Regions from separate parts of the Homo sapiens genome. Here region 2 is linked to region 1. Evidence: promoter capture Hi-C in 16 types of primary human blood cells and fetal thymus (Javierre and others, 2016). All regions are on one chromosome and are shown on one strand. Each heading gives the region's core, a stretch centred on a gene start or on the middle of the fragment in contact. The rest is flanking DNA. Distances are from core to core; before and after follow the strand shown.

Evidence for each region. The method cuts DNA at HindIII sites, captures the fragments that hold promoters and counts their contacts. A CHiCAGO score of 5 or more calls a contact.
Region 2: a contact is called between a fragment that was not itself captured here and the fragment with the promoter of PKNOX1 in region 1, in 1 of 17 cell types (naive CD8 T cells). The highest score is 5.0, in naive CD8 T cells.

Annotation. Positions count from the first base shown.
Region 1 is chr21:42,970,360-42,976,856 of GRCh38, reverse strand. PKNOX1 (PBX/knotted 1 homeobox 1) reads right to left here and starts at 2,295. Exons shown (of 11, transcript NM_004571.5): 1 at 2,193-2,295. RefSeq lists enhancers at 770-1,496, 4,619-5,378 and silencers at 1,458-1,657, 1,798-2,117, 2,248-2,637, 2,948-3,107. The HindIII fragment of the contact is 12,758 bases long and covers 1-4,807 here.
Region 2 is chr21:43,659,898-43,666,394 of GRCh38, reverse strand. The region is part of intron 1 of RRP1B (ribosomal RNA processing 1B); the gene reads right to left. Among named protein-coding and RNA genes, the nearest start is that of RRP1B, 3.6 kb to the right of the region's middle. RefSeq lists enhancers at 3,034-3,093, 5,843-5,892. The HindIII fragment of the contact is 3,367 bases long and covers 974-4,340 here.

The DNA of each region.
Region 1 (6,497 bases), core at 1,046-3,545:
AAAACCTTCTGGAAAGAATCTGCCATTCTAGATGCCATTCATGATTCATGGAAGGAAGTCAAATAACATTAACAGGAGTTTGGAAGAAGTTGATTCTAACCCTTATGATGACTTGGAGGAGTTCAAGACTTCAGTGGAGGAAGGAACTGCAGATGTGGTGGAAATAATGAACAGTTGCTTCTTACGGATGAGCAAAGAAAGTGGTTTCTTGAAATGGAATTTATTCCTAGTGAAGACGCTGTGCACATTGTGGAAATGACAACAAAACATTTGGAATATCACATCAACTTAGTGGATAGCAGTGGCAGAGTTTGAGAATAGCCTCCAACTTTGAAAGAATTTTCACTGTGGTTAAAATGCTATCAAAACAGCATCACATGCTACAAAGAAGTCTTTCATGAAAGGAGGAGTCCATCAATGCAGTAAATTTCACTGTTGTCTTATTTTAAGTAACTGACACAGCCACCACCACCCTGATCAGTCAGCAGCCATCCACACTGAGGCCAGATTGTCAAAGTATAAAACAAGCAGGACTCACTAAAGGCTCAGATGATCATTAGTATTTTTAGCACTAAAATATTTTTTAATTAACGTAAGCACATTTTTATAGATATAATGCTTGCTATTGCACACTTTAAGTAGTATACTGTAATTACAACTTTCATATGCACTGAAAAACCTAAAACTGTTGCGTCACTTGCTTTACTGCAATACTTATTTTACTGCGGTGGTCTGGATTAGAACTCGAATTATCTGAGGTACGCCTGTGTACAAGGACAGGATTCACAAATCACTCTAAGTAAATTAAGCAGAGTGATGAAAGGCTCATTGGGGTCAGCCTGCCATCTTCCAAATTATGACTAAATGCAAGAGCATCACCAATAACTATACTGGCAGAGGTTCACATTTCACCTCGATTCTTCCTTATGTTTAGAGAAAGCCTATTTTTCAGTATGCCAGGAAAAATCATGAAAGTAGACCTAACTAAAGCTGGGGGTTTCTTTCATCCTGAAGAGGAACCACTTCCTAAGGAAAAATCATCTACTGTTTTAAAAAGCAAACTCTCGTAGAGTTGGAAGAGAACCCCACACACAGGTGGAACACCCCCCAGGGCTGCGGCCCCGCCGTGGCGCTCAGCCTGGCCTGCCCTGGGCCCGACCTCAGGACGCCGCCATTCCCGGACCCTCGGGCCTCCCGTCAGGAATCCGCCATCGGAACGGAGGCCCTAACTGGTCCCGTCGCAGAGCCACTGTCCAAATAAGGCATTTCGAGAGCCACGAGGATGACATAAAGCAGACTCCGCGTTTCTTCATTTTTCGTTAAGTGACACGATTTCCCTCACAAGGAAGGTGCAAACCCACAGGGCGCCCAGACCCTGCCCGGCACTTCCTGTCATCCATTACCACGACCCGTGTGACAGAAGCGGCTCTTCCCACCAATTCCCGGGACGCCGGAACCGCTTCCCCAGCACCCGGCCCCAAACACTGCCGTCAGCGAGCGGCCCTGGGCTGCTCCCGCGCCGGCGCCCGGCTGAGGGCCACGAGCCCCATCACGCCCACCGCCCCCAGGACCCCGACCCACCCGCTCGCCACGGCCGAGGCCGGGGCCGGGGTCGCGGCCGCCATCTTCCCGCCTGCGCCGCCGCGCGCCCCGCACCCTCCGAGCAGCCCCGCCGGCCCTGAGGACTCCGCGAGGCCGCGGACCCGACCGGCCCCACGCGCGCCGCCCGCCCCGGCCCCGCCCCGCCGCGCGCCCCCGACCCTCACGCCCGCCGCCCCGCCCGCGCCGGGCTCCGCGCGCCCCCGCCCCGCGCCGGGGCGCGCGCCGCACTCCGAAAGGGACGGTTAGGAGCGCGCGCTTCGATCAGGCCCAGCGCGGCGGCGGCGGCGCCTTCCAGAAATTTCCGCGTCCCTCAACCCACACTAAGAAACCAACTGGGCGCGCCCCCGCGCCGGTTGGGCTGAAGGCGCCCCCTCCCCCGCGGGTGCCCGCTCCCCTCCCCCACCCGCGCCCCCTCCCCGCCCCCTGCCCCGGGCGGCGGGTCAAATGCGGGCCCTCGAGGGCAGCGCCGGCCCTCCAGACCCGGGCGGCAGCGGCGGCGGCGGGCGGCGGCCGCGGGCCGGTGTGATTGATAGGGACGGCGGCGGCGAGAGCGGCGGCGGCGGCGGCGGAGCGGTTGAGTGACAGCTTACCTGGGTGCCAATCTTCATCACACTGACAAGCGGCTGCAGCAATCGGGACCCGCAGTGCCGCGCCCGCGTCCAACCGTCACGCCGACGCTGGGCCACGCGACACAGCCTCGCTCAATGGGAGGAGGGCGACGCCGACGCGCGCCGCATCAATATTCAGAGAGGGGGCGGGGCCTGCCGGAGACGGGCCCCGCCCCTCCCTGCGCGGCGGCGGGCGCGGGGCGGGGCCTGATCGCTGGGGGAGGAGAGCGAGGGCGGGAACCGGGCGGTGGCCGGCCCCGCCTCCAGCCCCGCCCGCACCCGGAGCTAGGCCGTGCCCCCAACCGGCCGCGCCCGAGCGCGAGGAGCTGTCTGCCCCGCCCCGAAGGCAGAGCCTCCCGCCTTATGACTATGCAGTAGGGGCGTGGCCTCAGCGCACGTCTTGCCCCCTCCGCGCCCTCGGTTGCCGCCCAGGAGAGGTGTGTGTAGCCGGGCGAAACCATTTGCCTCGAGCAGGCGGGGAGGGAGGGCTGTACCATCCGTAACCCCACCGCCGGGCGTCCCGTAGCCGAAGGCCTCCGTTCTGTGTGTGCCCGGTTTGAATGTAAGCCCGTGGGAGCCTCGCAGCCTTCCTCCCCAGGCTCTGGAGCCCGGGTGGGCCCGTCCTGGGCGGCACAGTGGATGCTCACGTGCCTCCCCCCCTGCGGCAGCGCGAGTGCTTAGCACCTGAGGCTTTACCCTGGGGGCTGTCTTCCCTCTGTGAGGACCCCAGCAAGGACTCATGATGTCCACAGGTGCTTAGGGGTGGCCTCTGGGCTACTTGGCCTCGCTTGACCACACCTTCCGGCCCAGGTGAGCCTTGCGGGTCTAGGTGACCAATGCGGCCTCCAGGTAAAGGGCACCTGCCTTAGGGGACGCCCACAAGTGTCTGCATTTCAAACTGCTTTGAAAGACCACCCTAACCGACCACTGCCACAATGTACCCACAAGTGCAGATGGTGGCTTTGGTCTCCAAGATGTAAGGAAAGGGCGACACATTCCCCACTGCGTAGGAAAGCACACGGTTTGCCTGACTGGCCTTCAATACTGCAGAAACATCCATTTATGCAGTGGCCCACCGAAGGCCATCAGTGCCTTGAGTCCATACACAGCGCGGGAAGGGCAGCTCTGTGGGCCCCCACTCCTCCCGGAAGGCAGACAGGCCCAGGACTGGAGCTGATTGCTAGAGGGAGCCTGGGGGTAGGTCTAGGCATGAACAGCTCGGAGGACATCCCTCCTGTGTCTTCAGAGCTCCACACCGCCAGGAGGTCTTGGCCAAGTGCTGTGCAGCTGCAGAGCCGCCTCTTTCAGAAAGATGGGAAGCAGCAGGGTGGGCAAGAGGGAGGCCCTGAGATACTTGCCCAAGGAGGGAAGTTCAAGGGGACAAAAAAAGCTCAGTATTCAAGACTGAGCATAATCTGCAGAGCCTAGTGCAAGATCCAGATGCAAGTGTCAATAGGTGTTGGAACAGAGAGACTCCACATGGGCTGGGTAAACTGAAGCTGAGACCTGCTGGGCCGCACCCCCCAGGAGTTAAGGCGTTCTTAGTAATCGGATGAGATAGGAGGTCGGAACAAGACACAGGTCACAAGGATCCTGCTGATAAAACAGGATGCAGTAAAGAAGCCGGCCAAATCCCACCAAAACCAAGATGGCGGGGAAAGTGACCTGTGGCCTTCCTCACTGCTGATTATACACTAATTATAATATATGAGCTTGGTAAAACACACTCTCGCCAGCGCCATGACAGTTTTCAAATGCCATGGCAACGTTTGGAAGATACCCTACATTGCCTAAAAGGGGTCGGGCGCAGTGGCTCACGCCAGTAATCCCAGCACTTTGGGGAGGCCAAGGCGGGCAGATTACTTGAGGTCAGGAGTTGAGACCAGCATGGCCAATATGGTGAAACCCCATCTCTACTAAAAATACCAAAAAATTAAGCAGGCGTGGTGGCATACACCTGTAGTCCCAGCTACTTGGGAGGCTGAGGCAGGAGAATCGCTTGAACCTGGGAAGCAAAGGTTGCAGTGAGCCGAGATCACGCCATTGCACTCCAGCCTGGGCAACGAGCAAGACTCCATCTCCAATAAATAAATAAATAAATGGAAGAGGAAGCCTAAGTTCTGGGAATTCCCCACCACTTTCCCAGAAAACTCATGAATAATCCACCCCTTGTTTAGCACGTGATCAAGAAATAACCAATATAATTCAGGAACGGATTCTAGGGAAAAAAAAAAGGACCATAAAAATAGCCAACCAGCAGCCCTTGGGGCTGCTCTGCCTATGGAGTAGCCATTCTTTGGTTTATTTACTTCTCTAACAAACTCACTTTCACTTTACTCTGTGGATTCTCCCTGAATTCTTTCTTGTGTAAACTCCAAGAACCCTCTCTTGGGATCTGGATTGAGACCCCATTCCAGTAAGACAAAGTCCCTGGCTCAGAAATTACAGTGAAGAATTTCAAGGCAGTGACAGCAGAACCTTACCCCAAGCCTGGGCCCTTCTCAGCAGGGGCAGGGGCCCTGTGACATGCTGTTCAGGCCCCTGGAAGCAGCCCGGGGCTCACTGGCCACACCTACACCTGCCCCCGGTCTGAAGCTTTCATTTATTTGCATCTGGCCTGTGAGACAGCAGGAGTTCCACAGGAGGACCTGAGCGCATGGTCACCCAGAGCCCAGGAAGCAGCTGCAGCAAGTCCAGGGCAGACAGAAGCCCAGGCCCTGCCATCCCACTCTGGGCCCAGAAGACTCTGGGGTCATCAGCTAGGTGCCTTCTCTGCCAGCTGCTTTGCCGTTTCACCCACCATGAGCGGCCACCCTTCTTTTTCTTCATTTCTGAAGTCTGTCTTCAGAAAAGGGGGAAAGGCCGGGATGTGTTGCCAGAAAGGGGGTCTTGATCCAGACCCCAAGAGGGGATTCTTGGATCTTGAGCAAGAAAGAACTCAGGGCAAGTCCATAAACTGAAAGCAAGTTTATTAAGAAAGCAAAGGAATAAAAGAACAGCTACTCCATAGGCCCACCAGTGGCGTGGCTGCTCAGTTGCTTATACTTTTTGTTTGTTTGCTTGCTTGTTTTTCTTTCCTGCCCTGCCTTCCTCCCCCGGCAGCTTATACATATATTGTTAGCTCTTGATTATATGCTAAACACAGGGTGGGTTATTCATGAGGTTTCCTGAACAGGGGTGGGAACTGAGGGTTCCTCCCCTTTTTAGGCCATATAGGGTAACCTCCTGCCATTGCCATGGCATTTGTAAACTGTCCTGACAGTGGTGGGAGTGTCTTTTAGCATGCTAATGTATTATAATTAGCATATAATGAGCAGTGAGGACGACCAGCAGTCACTTTCATCCTCATCTTGGTTTTGGTGGGATTTGGCCGGCTTCTTTACCTGTTTTATCAGCAAGGTCTTTGTGACCTGTGTCTTGTGTCCTCCTATCTCTCCCTGTGACTAAGAATGCCTTAACCTCCTGGAAACGCAGCCCAATAGGTCTCAGTCTTATTTTACCCAGTCGCTATTCAAGATGGAGTCGCTTTGGTTCAAATGCCCCTGACAGATGCACTATCAGTAGTCTCCTCCTCCAGGGATGGGCAAAGTTTGCTGGGCCCTGAAACTTGCATACTGTGAGGAGTCTTTAGGAAAATAATTCAAAGTGAGGTAGGTATGGGGCTTTAGAGGGGGTGAAGACTCATTTGCTTCCCTGTGAATCCACCTTTGCCTCCAACCACACCTGTGTGGCCATGGGGGCCCTCTTCCCGGTGTTGAGCACCGAAGTGGTTTCTAAAGAAAAAAAAACAGACCGGGCTCAGTGGCTCACGCCTGTAATCCCAGCACTTTGGGAGGCCGAGGTGGGCGGATCACGAGGTCAGGAGATCGAGACCATCCTGGCTAACAGGGTGAAACCCCCTCTCTACTAAAAATACAAAAAATTAGCCGGGCGTGGTGGCAGACGCCTGTAGTCCCAGCTACTCGGGAGGCTGAGGCAGGAGAATGGCGTGAACCCAGGAGGCAGAGCTTGCAGTGAGCAGAGATCGCGCCACTGCACTCCAGCCTGGGCGAAAGAGCAAGACTCCGTCTCAAAAAAAAAAAGAAAGAAAAAAAAACAGGTACATTTTAATTCAAATAAGCAGCCATTCTATTTTCTTTACAACATGTTTTCTATAATATTTGTTAATTTTTTTTTTTTTGAGATGGAGTCTTGCTATATCACCCAGGCTGAAGTGCACTAGCATGATCTTGGCTCACTGCAGCCTCTGCCTGCTGGGTTCAAGCAATTCTTCTACCTCAGCCTCCC
Region 2 (6,497 bases), core at 1,408-3,907, 690 kb before region 1:
CAGGAGCTCAACTGCTGGTGCCAGCACCTTGTTTTTCTCCACTGCAACCTCTGCTGCCCCAAAGATTGTCTCCATTCTCAGACAGGCTCCACCTGTGTTACAAGGTGGCTGGGAGCAGGTACAAACTGTGTGTTCTCTTCAAGTCCAGTAAGGAGAGAGCTAGAAACTCCTAAGGACTGAGCAAGAAGATTTTTACCTGCAGAGGGTCACTTGGCTTTTCTTGAACCTGTCCTGTGGCCAAGGGAATTCTGCTGAATTGGCAGAAGCCGCCGCCTCTCCACGTGGGGTAAGCCCCACCCAGACCACAGAGTCCCTCCACACCCTGCTTGAAGGTGGAGAGCCTTGGAGGGAAATCCCAATGTAGCTGCCCAGCAAGGACAAGGAGTGCCCTGAGCCTGACCCCATGCAGTAACCTGGGTCCTTCAAATCCTCTCTTTGGGTTTAAGCTGGTTAATGCTCCTGCACTTCCAGTTGCATCACTGTCTTAGTCTGTTGCGCTGCTATAAAGGAACACCTGACGCTAAGAGGTTTATTTGGCTCGAGGCTCTGCAGGCTGTACAAGCATGGCTCCAGCATCTGCTTCTGGTGAGGACCTCAGGGAGTGTCCCATCTTGGCTGGAGGGGAAGGGGAGTTGTCATGTCACATAGCAAGGGAGGAGGAAGGTGCCAGGCTCTTTAACAGTCAGATCCCACAGGAACTAGGAGTGCGCGCTCATTTAATCCTGAGAATGGCACCAAGGGTTCCGCTGGAACCCAGGAGGCGGAGGTTTCAGTGAGCCAAGATCGCACCACTGCACTCCAGCCTGAGCGACAGAGCAAGACTCCATCTCAAAAAATAAACAAATAAATAAAATAAAATAAAACTAGCATGGCGTAGATGTTCTGTCAAGTTGCAACTGAAAGAGTCCTAACTAATAAAAACACGTTTATTGCAAAGAACCTTACCACCATCAAAGTGATATAATCACAAGCTTGTCTTGCTCCCTGCCTCCTGAATCCCAGGCTCTGAACCAGAGGGACTGATGCAACCTGTCTGATGTGTATCTTTCCAGATCTTTCCTGGGCATTTATTTACAGAACAGTTACAGGTAGTGCAGAAAAGCACAGTTGTGTGTGTGACCTAAATGGCATAATATTCTGTATTCTGGTCTTTCTCACTTAAAAACAGCATATTTATTTCCAGATGGTTTTGTAAGTATACCATTGGGTCAAGCCAACAGTAAGTGATAATGTGGTCTGCCTAGCATCTGCTATGGATAGCCCACACCTGTAACAGGCAAAGGCACAGTATGATGTGCTACAGAGGCGTTCATAATGGAAAACAGTAGATTCTGACGGAGTGACAACAGACCCTGGACAGTGGGCAGCAAAGTGGGCTGGGTGAGTAATATGGGTTGGCTGTGTCCCCACCCAAATCTCACCTTGAATTGTAATAATCCCCACGTGGTGGGAGGGACCCAGTGGGAGGTAACTGAATCACGGGGACGGGTTTTTCTCATGCTGTTCTCGTGAGACTGAATAAGTCTCATGAGATCTAACGGTTTTATAAAGGGGAGCTCTCCTGCACATACCCGCTTGCCTGCCGCCATGGATGACCTGCCTTTGCTTTGTTTCTCCTTTGCTGTCTGCCATGATTGTGAGGCCTCCCCAGCCATGTGGAACTGTGAGTCCATTAAACCTATTTCCTTTATAAATTACCCAGTCTCCGGAGTGTCTTTATTAGCAGCGTGAGAACAGGCTAATACAATGAGAAAAGATACTCTGATTGTCTCTTTTCTAGGAGGCAACAGAGTAGCACGGAAACAAACCTTGGCTCAGGCCCCAGCTTCCTGCTGACAGGGGCCCAGTATCAGAAAACTGTCAACTGACTTTTGGGCCTCAGTTCTATCACCTATACTATATGAAAGATTTATTGTTAGGGTCAAGCCCAAGACGTGTGAAACACTGTAAGAACAAAGCACTATTGAGTTGGTGAGAGATTACAATAATAATTGTCTCACTTTCTATTCCTAGGAATACATTTTACATTTTGTTCCCTTTTTTCTTTTTCTTTTTTTTTTTTTTTTTGAGACGGAGTTTTACTCTTGTTGCCCAGGCTGCAGTGCAATGGTGCGATCTTGGTTCACTGCCTCCCGGGTTCAGGTGATTTTCCTCCCTCAGCCTCCCAACCTCAGGTGATCCACCCGCCTCGGCTTCCCAAAGTGTTGGGATTACAGGCGTGAGCCACTGCGCCCGGCCCATTTTGTTCCCTTTTAAAACATCTATTTTCCATTTATGTCTGTGTGTGTGTGTTCACCTAGGAATCTAATAAAAACAAGCCACCAATTTTTGAAGTATTCAAAGTAAAAGAGAGAAATGCTCATTACTGAATTACTTTCAAAGCTCTGAAAGGCAAAGTACATTATCTGAAGCAGTTTGGTTTCATCAGTCTTGTCTTCTCTATTTTCTTCTTGGGGCTAAATTTCTTAAACTTAATACTACTGTTTTTACAACAATACAATATAGGTTTATTTATTTCAAAATGAATGAGGTAGGCCAGGTACAGTGGCTCACTTCTGTAATCCCAGCACTTTGGGAGACCGAGGTGGGCAGATCACCTGAGGTCAGGAGTTCAAGACCAGCCTGGCCATCATAGAGTGAAACCCTGTCTCTACTAAAAAAATACAAAAATTAGCTGGGCATGGTGGTGCATGCCTGTAGTCCCAGCTACTTGGGAAGCTGAGGCAGGATAATCGCTTGAACCTGGGAGGTGGAGGTTGCAGTGAGCCGAGATTGTGCCACTGCACTCCAGCCTGGGCGACAGAGCAAGTCTCTGTCTCTCAAAAAAACAAAAACAAAGGCTGGGCACGGTGTGGCTCACACCTGTAATCCCAGCACTTTGAGAGGCCTAGGCGGGCGGATCATGAGGTCAGGAGCTCAAGACCAGCCTGGCCAACATGGTGAAACACCGTCTCTACTAAAAACACAAAAATTAGCCAGGCGTGGTGGTGGGCGCTCGCTACTCGGGAGGGTGAGGCGGGAGAATTGCTTGAAACTGGAAGGTGGAGGTTGCAGTTAGCAGAGATCGCGCTGTTGCACTTCAGCCTGGGTGAAAGAGTGAAACTCTGTCTCAAAAAACAAAAACACACAAAACAAACGAGGTAAACATCAAAGTGAGACATGTAGACATGTGAAATATTAGTAAGTTTTGAAATGAGCAAATCCAACAGCCACTCTCACCACGCAATGAGCCCAGAAGCCATTTTAGATGGGGGTAAAGTGTTAAACTTGAACACACCCCAGTGTCAGAACATCCACAACTTCTATTTATTATAACTCTTGGATAGAGAGAACCCTAACCCCATCATTATAAAAAAACTTATATCCTCCATCATCTACACTGAATCTAATATAGCATCAACCATAAGATGTACTGTTATTTTGTATGCTGCCAAAAAGAAAGCAATGATACAAATGAAATTGTCACTGGGTTGATTTTGGGATGCCTCCCCATTTTAGTCAATATTTTTAAAGTTGCAGAACTGATAAGATAGGCAGGGATGGTCTGTTTTGTTCACTGCTATATTCCCAGTGCCAAGAATAGCGTACATAATAGTACACAGTTGGCACTCCATAAATGTTTGCTAAATATATGAATGAATGAATGAATTGGGACAAATAAGCTCTTATGGATGAAAGCCATGGAGAGTGATCATTTTATGACTGTGAGCACCCAACTTGAACAGTTAAAGCAAGAGCGCAACACTGTTACTTAAAGCAATACAAAGATTTCCAATTTATTTTTAAAATGACAAAGCTATCTATTGATGTTGCTGCAGAACAGCTCATGTTTCAGGAAGAGTGATAGCTCACATTTCCTTTATGATGCCTAAGACAAGATGCAGAAAAGTTGGAGCCTGTCATCGGGAGTCGAATGTCAGGCCAAGTTATTTCCAAACTTGTGCTGTAATTGTGATGGGGCATAGCTGTGGTGGAGACCTTGTGTTTTCTTGTCCCATTATCACTGTCCACGACGTTCATGCTGCGGAGTTATTTTCTGAAGGTCCACTGTACTCCATGCAATGTGGTGGTGAACAAGATATACAAGACAAGTCACTCTGGGTGTGATAGGCACTAACCAGACAGGACTCTGGAGCACTGGTGTAAACTGGTCTTAGGCCCCCGCATAACCTCTGCATTTGCAAATCCTGGGCTGGCTCACCAAAGGGTTTGAGCAAAAGGCTCTGTCTAGGCTGTCTTAGCACCGTAAGTATTGCCTCTGGTCTTCCACTCTTGTACAGGCCAAGACCTTTTACGGTTGCATGTACTCCCACTTCTGGCTAAGAAAACAGATGGAAGCTTACGGTGTTTCGGGAGAAGGATGACACATTGATAATTAAGAAGCAATGTAGCTAAGTGCTACAACAGAGACACAATGGATGTTTTAGAACCCTGGAGGAGTAGGGCAAGATGCTAGGCGAGGCTTTTTGAAGGAAGTGATACTGAACTGAATGCTGGCAGTGAAGAAGGTGTGGGATTCTTTGCAGAGTGAACAGGAGAAGCAAAGGCAGAGAGGTGAGAAATTGTGTGCTGTACACCAAGAACCATCACCGATTCTGTTGACGGAACATGAAGCAGTTACACGGGGCTTAGGCAGGAAGAGCACCTGAGGACAGATCATGACTTGCAGACACTGAATTTCAAAAAATATTGGTGATGTGGGATCAGATTTGTTTTAGGAAGATGACCCTGGGCTGGTCTGTGGAGGACAGATTCCTGGGGACACAAGTGAAGTTAAGGAGACCAGTTGGGGAATATGCGGGCGCAGAAGTTTCGGTGAGATACAAAGAGCCCACGGTCAAGAATTTATGTCATCAGGAGGTGAACGAGGGAGGACGGGGGTCCTCCCACTGGATGTGGGCCAGGGGAAGAGGATGAGGAATTCAGAGGAGTCCAGGACAATCCCGTGTGTCCGGCTGGAATCTGAATGGCTGGTGGGAACCAGCAACCAAAAGAAAAGAAAACAGGTGGCAGTGGAGCAGCAGCAGAGAACAGGATTTCGGGGAAAGAAAACAGAACTTTTTTTGGCATCCTGAGTGTGAGGTGCCAGGTAGAGAAGCCAGGCTAGCAAGGCACATCCGAGCTGCAAGTAGGAATGGGCTGGGACAACAATTTAGGTTTAGAAACCACCAGCATATATGGGGTACCTGGAACTGTGAGACTAAACAAAATCTCTTGGGGAGATTCTTAACAGAATCAAAGTCAGGAATTTTGGTCTTTATTCCTTTTTCTATCAGACTTCCCAGGAAAGTGTATTTTCTTTTTTTGGGTAGTCTGGTGATTTCTCTTAAAAATAAAACAAACTGAGAATGTCAGTGATGGGGGAGATAATATCTGTTCTTTTAAGCAGATTCTAAATGTATTAGTACCATCAGTAACTAAATAAAACTTTATCTTAAAACCTCTATTACACATTGTAGTTCATATTGTATGGGCTCACTCAAGAGTTTATAGAAAGTATTTTTGGATCAGGTAAATGAAATCATCCAACAGCAGTGCCGTTAAAATCTAAACTACAAAGCCCTGTGTGATCTGGCCACTGCCTACATCTCCAACTTCATCTCATAACACTCGCCCCCCCAACCCCAACTTATTGGTCTTTCAAACCACTCCTAGGGCACGTGAAGCTCTTTCCTGCCTCTGCATAGGCGGTTTCCGCTCATTTCTCTTCAGATCTGAGCTGATTATCAGCCCAGAGAGGCCTTCCCAGAACAGCCTATCAAGAAGAGCAACCTCCTTCCCTTTTTGCTATTATCTGGTTTTCTTTTTCCTTTTTTCTTTTCTTTTCTTTTTGAGACGGAGTTTCGCTCTTGTTGCCCAGGCCGGAGTGCAATGCTGCGATCTCGGCTCACCGCAACCTCCGCCTCCCAGGTTCAAGCGATTCTCCTGCCTCAGCCTCCCGAGTACTGAGATTACAGGCATGCGCCACCATGCCCGGCTAATTCTGTATTTTTAGTAGAGCCGGGGTTTCACCATGTTGGTCCGGCTGGTCTCGAACTCCCGACCTCAGGTGATCCGCCCGCCTCGGCTTCCCAGAGTGCTGGGATTACATGCGTGAGACACCGCGCCCGGCCTGCTACCTGGTTTTCATTTCCTTTACTACACTTACACAAGGTCTACTTTATTTGCCTGTTTGCCTCCTTGCTTTATTACTAATAGATCCTCGAGGGTAGTGATTTTGTCTGTCTTCTCTCCTGCAGCCCCGTCACGTAAAGGTGCTGGTCAAAGGAAGGCGGCAATCACCGACCGGACACCAGGGCAAATCAGGGCAGCCCAGTGATTCGAGATGCCGGCTGGGGAATCGGACCCATGTGGGTCTTTTCTCAGCTTCCCCGCTTACTGTGACTTTCATAAGTAACGGAACCCCCTCAACCCGTTTCCTTAAGTGTAAAAAGGCACTAGACACAGCAAGAAGCGGTTCCGGCAGCGCGGAAACCGAAGCACACGCTGGGTGTCAC